Regions from separate parts of the Homo sapiens genome. Here region 1 is linked to region 2. The links are contacts of gene promoters, found by promoter capture Hi-C in blood cells and fetal thymus (Javierre and others, 2016). All regions are on one chromosome and are shown on one strand. The core of a region is centred on a gene start or on the middle of the fragment in contact, and the rest is flanking DNA. Distances in the headings are between cores, read along the strand shown. Region 1 overlaps GNA12 (G protein subunit alpha 12). Region 2 holds the start of AP5Z1 (adaptor related protein complex 5 subunit zeta 1).

What was found. The method cuts DNA at HindIII sites, captures the fragments that hold promoters and counts their contacts. A CHiCAGO score of 5 or more calls a contact.
Region 1: a contact is called between a fragment that was not itself captured here and the fragment with the promoter of AP5Z1 in region 2, in 1 of 17 cell types (M0 macrophages). The highest score is 5.7, in M0 macrophages.

Annotation. Positions count from the first base shown.
Region 1 is chr7:2,761,795-2,764,644 of GRCh38, forward strand. All of the region lies in intron 2 of GNA12 (G protein subunit alpha 12), which reads right to left. It also overlaps a transcript of AMZ1 not described here. Among named protein-coding and RNA genes, the nearest start is that of AMZ1, 75 kb to the left of the region's middle. RefSeq lists enhancers at 237-766, 1,297-1,825. The HindIII fragment of the contact is 1,308 bases long and covers 613-1,920 here.
Region 2 is chr7:4,774,232-4,776,931 of GRCh38, forward strand. It overlaps AP5Z1 (adaptor related protein complex 5 subunit zeta 1), which reads left to right and starts at 1,392. Exons shown (of 17, transcript NM_014855.3): 1 at 1,392-1,525. The coding sequence starts at 1,485. RefSeq lists enhancers at 134-810, 811-1,487, 861-910, 951-1,040, 1,471-1,540 and 2 more and a silencer at 1,221-1,350. The HindIII fragment of the contact is 11,700 bases long and covers 1-2,700 here.

The DNA.
Region 1 (2,850 bases), core at 17-2,516, 2.0 Mb before region 2:
AGAGATGACCAACTAATGCTGCTTTCATACCCTGGATAGTGCTGAGTACCTAACAGCTCTTTAGGTCACAACGTAAAATTCGGCTTCCAGCTGGTCCAGTTTTCCCATCTGTCGTATCCACGGAATGTCCAAATGTAAGGGAAAAATGTGGAGTGTCCAGCCGCCCACCAGTCCACCCAGCACCACAGCCTAACCTCACCGAGGCCTCCCAGCACTCACACAGAACACTCGCAGAGAACTGCGGCTCCATCCGCATTCCTTACCTTCATTACTGTCCCTACCTCCAGCCCCTCCAGAAAAAAGCGAAAGCGGCAGAGAAACCTGTGAAAACAAGACATGCCAAAAATACTGACTCAAAATACCAAAAGCTCTCACCCTGAGGTGGAGGGGTCAACCCAGGCTTCGTTTCTAGGAGAAGTTGTAAGGGCTTCGTGTTCTGCACTGCTAGGAAACACCACCCTGACTTAGGGTCGTCACAGAAGGTGCACATGGCGGGGCCGGCGTGCACCCACCACTCACGCCAGGCGCTGCGCGACTGCTGCTGGACACACACGATCCCACCGAATCCAGACACGGTATGGCGGTTCCCACTTTCCTCACTGAGGAAACCAAAGCTTAGACGTTAACTTGGCCAAGGGCAAAAACGCTACTTAACTCCAAAGTCCAGCCTCTGAACCCACCCGTGTGCGGGGCCTGAGGTGTGAGTAGCCTAACTGTGGACTACAAAAGCAGTTCCACCACGCCTTCTATTCTGGAGTTAGATCCAATGACATTTCCTGAAAATTACATTTACAAACCCAAAAAAGGACAATCCCCTTCCGGATAAGACCCCAATGCCATGAAGCACAGAGCGGCAGGACGATGAGAGGATAAATCATTTGGAAAGAAACCACGCTGCCCGGGTGGAGGAGCGCCAGAGGGAAGCAGGCCCCATGTCCTCCCTCCCGCAGGAAGTGCACCAGGCCCGTCCTTTCCACCCAGGCTGTACAAAAGGGAGGAGGAGCACTCAGGGCGGCCTCCCATCCGCCACACACCCAGTCAGCGCGGCTCCGAAGCAGGAGAGGGCCAGCTCCGAGCCCTGCTCGTGGAGCCATTGGTGCTGCGGCGGGGAGAAGAGGCCACAGGCGGGGACGCCCCAGACACTCCCGTGGGGCCCGTGCCAGGGTCTCCTGCTCCTCAGAAAGAGCCCTTGTGTGCTACTGTGGTCGCCAACAGCCCCGCCGGCCACTGGCCCAGGACTCAGCGTGCCGTTCCTCCAGGACGCAGACCGGGGCTCCCTACCAGCCTTGAGTGAGAGACCACAAGCAGCCTCTGAAGTCATCTTCCTCTCTCTTCTCAGAAGCATTTCTCGAATATTCTGCTGACAAGAGGTTAGCAGGACTTCACAAGACACCCCAACACACACACACACACACACACACACACACACACACACACGGTCTCAACACAGTTCAGAAAACACATTTGCCTTCCCAGGCCCGTGGGAGGAGTGCTGTGAGGCTGAGACACAGCCCGGCTTGCTGACGGCACAAATGCCGGTGCGCCCTCGGCACAGTTTGTTTGCTTCATCGGGCGGAGAAGGCCGAGTTCCAGCTCAGGGAGCCCACAAAGGAGCTCTTCCTATGGCCCTGCCAAACGCCTGGAGCAAAGGTTTTGTCTGGAAAAGCTCCCCGAGCTCCCTCAACCCCGGCAGCAGTGCTGCTCTATGGCTGAGGATGAAGCTCCAGTCCATGTCCCAAGCAGTGTCTCAATTCTCAATGGTCCTGTAATCTAAGGCTAGCTCGAAACAAAAAACAATTATTTTAAGGTCTAAAATATGCAGAAAGAGCTGCAGTGAACACATTTACACTTCCCAAGGACAAGCATCTAAGGAAGATCCCTGGTAAGAATGAGAAAGCCTGGGCTTGTCCAGGAAACCAAAGCTTCTTCTAAATGTGCCTTCCCTGCACAAAATGCCTCCCCCACAGGCTCTGCTTTTCCTGTCGCCTGGAACAAGAAAGCTCCCTGGGCAGGCGAGGCCGGGACCTCTGCACTGAGATCCCCACTCAGTGGCCTCCATGGCTGGCAGAGAGCGAGGGAGACGGAGAGAGAAGGAGCTCAGCTGAGCTGTTGCTTTAGAGTCTTGGTTAAAGTGAATCCAATTATGCACCCTTCTTTCCTATAGCAACACTACAGGGGCATGAGAACAGGGTACGCACCTAAAGTGAGGCTTGCCTATACTTTCTAGAAGTCTTCCTAAGGCTGCTGTGCTGGTGTCCTCTGATTGGTTGAGTATTTTTTATCATTTTGGTTTTGAGACAGGGTCTCACTCTGTTGCCCAGGTTAGGGGGCCGTGGTGCAATCATGGCTCACTGCAGCCTCAAACTGAAGTGGGCTCAAGTGATCCTCCTGCCTCAGCCTCCTGAGTAGCTGGGACCACGGGCACGTGCCACCTATCCCCAGCTAATTTCTTTTTTTTTTTTTTTTTTAATAAAGATGGGATCTCACTATGTTGCCCAGGCAGGTCTCAAACTCCTAGGCTGGAGTGATCCTCCCATCTCAGCCTCCCAAAGTGCCAGGATTCCAGGCGTGTGCTCCCGCATCCAGGCAGTCTGGTTTATTATTCACACAGAAGTACATCTGATATTGCTGACCAGAGGAGAGTTGAGATTCCGTATGAAGTCTATTTGTTCAATTACCTGAATCCTCTGAGACGCCCCAGTTGCCCAGTATTCACAGTGGTTGTGGTCGGGCTCAGCGTTTACTTCACAATCCAGACTCCTGGGCTTTGTCTCTGACATGTGAATGAATGATCTCCTCTGCCATGGCTTAGGGAGCCAGGGCCTGTCAGCTGGTCTCATCAGAGCTGAG
Region 2 (2,700 bases), core at 142-2,641:
CATCTCTTCATTCTCTGCACCAGGTGCCCTCAGACATCACTGGGCGCCCTAGGGCATCTCAAAGCCATGTTTGGAACTCCTGCAGGAAGCCCTCCCTCCTCCTCCTCCTTCCTTCCATCCAGGGGTCTTCTCGGGGCTTATCCCTTCAAGGCCTAACCTTGACCCACCCTATCTACGCAACATTGATTCCCACCCCTACCCTATTCCCCAGAACCTTCAGCAGTGCCTAGCGCAGCTAGGACTCAATCATCGCTTGTCCACTTAATGAATGACTCTTGGCACAAATTTCCTCGTCCTTTTCTGCCCCAGACAGACACCCCACAAACATGAAGTTACCCTTGATTTTTCCACTTTCTTCCTCCTGCCTGCAAATTCCTCAATCACAGGTGGTGCAAATCCTACCTCTAAATGGTACTGAATCTGCCTACTTTCGGGGCAACCTCCCTTACCTGGACCACAACTGCACCAGCCTCCTTTCTCCCTCAGGAGCTTCCCAATCCATTATCTCCCCTGCGGCCAGAGATCAGTTTCCTCCTGGGGTGCATTTAAGCCATAGGAAGCAGATCGCTACCCTAGGCCCGTCCCTCCCCACCCCTTGGTCTGGACACCCTCTGGGCTCATCTTAGGCCGCAGTCGCCGAAGCCTTCCTCCTCCGGTTGGACCCCCAACCAGGTCAGGCTGTCATAGCGTTTATCATGACGCTGGCGTGTCGCCCTGTGTCCCTCGGCCGTCTGCAGGATGGCAAACTTATGGCCAGGGCCCAGCACATTTGGGCACCCAACACATCCGTTAGAATGAACAGAAACTTCCCCTCTCCGAGCCTGTGGCCTCATCTGTAAAACAGAGATCGCGAGATCCCATGAATACCGTGGGGATTGAATAAGGGATTTTTTCGTTTCAAGCAGCAGGAACAGCGCGGGATGGGTGCTCAATAAATGGGAGCTCAAAAAATCCCCAAAACTGCCCAGAGCCGCGGCTATTCCTTGCAAACTGCTGGACACTGCTGGGCTCAGCCCACAAGTGTCGGAGTTTGCATCAGATTTTCAGGTCGTACTTAGCAAAGGGACTCCCGCACGACAAAGCTGTTTACGAAACAGAAACCAGAACTGGGGCAGTGACACTTTGGGGCCAGCAATGCCCTCTCCCAAAGCCCCAGGCGCCCAATTTCCGCCGAAATGCTTTCCGGGGTCGAAGGGCGCCGGGGCTCCAGAGTGCCGAGGTTCCGGGGTCGCGCGATTCCGCAGCTCCCAGGCGCCGACCCGGACCCCCGGCCGCGGCACCTACGCCCCGCCCCAGTCGCTCCACGCCAAAGCCCATTGGTCGGCAACCTGTCCCTCCTGCTCATGTGATGCGGCACGTGACGCAGCCACGTAAGGCCGCTGCGCTCACGTGACGCGGTCCCGGAAGTTGACCGGGGTGCGGAGCTCCTGGGCTGCAGCTCCTGGAGTTTCCGAGGTTCGTGCGCGTCTGGTGGCGGCGGCGTGATGTTCTCGGCAGGAGCGGAGAGTTTGCTCCACCAGGCCAGGTACGGGGGAGCTGCGGCCCCGGCCCTCCTTCCTGCATCTCTCCCTAGGGGCACACGGGGGTGGGTCTCACAGGGCAGGGGCTTGGGCGCCAGCCTTGCAGGAACCCGACTGGACTCGCCCTCGAGACTTGGGGATCGGGTAAGGCAACACGGCGGCCAGGCTTGGGGTGAGGAGGTCGGGGAGGGTCATGGTGGGTCCCCGGAGGAGGTGACACTTGAGCAGAGTCTTGGTGAGTGAAAGCAAGTGGGGTGGGACCCAGTCGACAGTTTAGTCAAAGGCTTGGCGGTGAGAACTCCGCGTCTGGCAGGAAATCGGGCAGCCGGGAGATTTCAGTGCCTCACAGTCAAGAACGCAAAGTCACAGTGTCCGGAGGCCTGCTAAGGAATAAGGCTGTGTGCCAGGCTGGGGAGCTGGAGGCCATCCGAGGGCTTTGCGGAACCGTGGGAGGGTTTTGTGACTTAAAAAGATCTCTCTTGCGCGGATGTATTAGCTAGGCTGAGAAATCACCCTCCAGGCTGGTTTCAGGCTGTGTCTGGACTCCCAGTAACGAGTGAGTAGCTCCTTCCTCACCAACTAACCAGTCATGGGGGAAAACAGTGTAAGCCAGGACTGAACAGACTCACGGTCCACCAAACAGGCAAAGACTTCATACTACATGTTTAAAAGAAGAAAATGCTGACCGGGCGTGGTGGCTCACGCCTGTAATCCCACCACTTTGGGAGGCCAAGGCAGGCGGATCACCTGAGGTCAGGAGTTCGAGACCAGCGTGCCCAACATGAGGAAACCACGTCTCTACTGAAAATACAAAAAAAAAAAAAAAAAAAAAAATTAGCCGGGCGTGGTGGTGGGTGACTGTAATCCCAGCTACTCGGGAGGCTGAGGCAGGAGGATTGCTTGAACCTGTGAGGTGGAGGTTACAGTGAGCTGAGATGGCGCCACTGCACTCCAGGCTGGGGGACAGAGCGAAACTCCGTCTCAAAAGAAAAAAGAAAAAAAGTAAAGAAAATACAGCCAGCACTACAGCCCCTTGGTAAACGTAAACAAACTTGGTGAGGTGAGAGGCCGAAGCAGGAGAAGTGCATGAACCCAGGAGGCCGAGGGTGCAGTGAGCCAAGATCGCACCACTGGACTCCAGTCTGGGTGACAGAACGAGACTCCATGTCAAAACAAACAA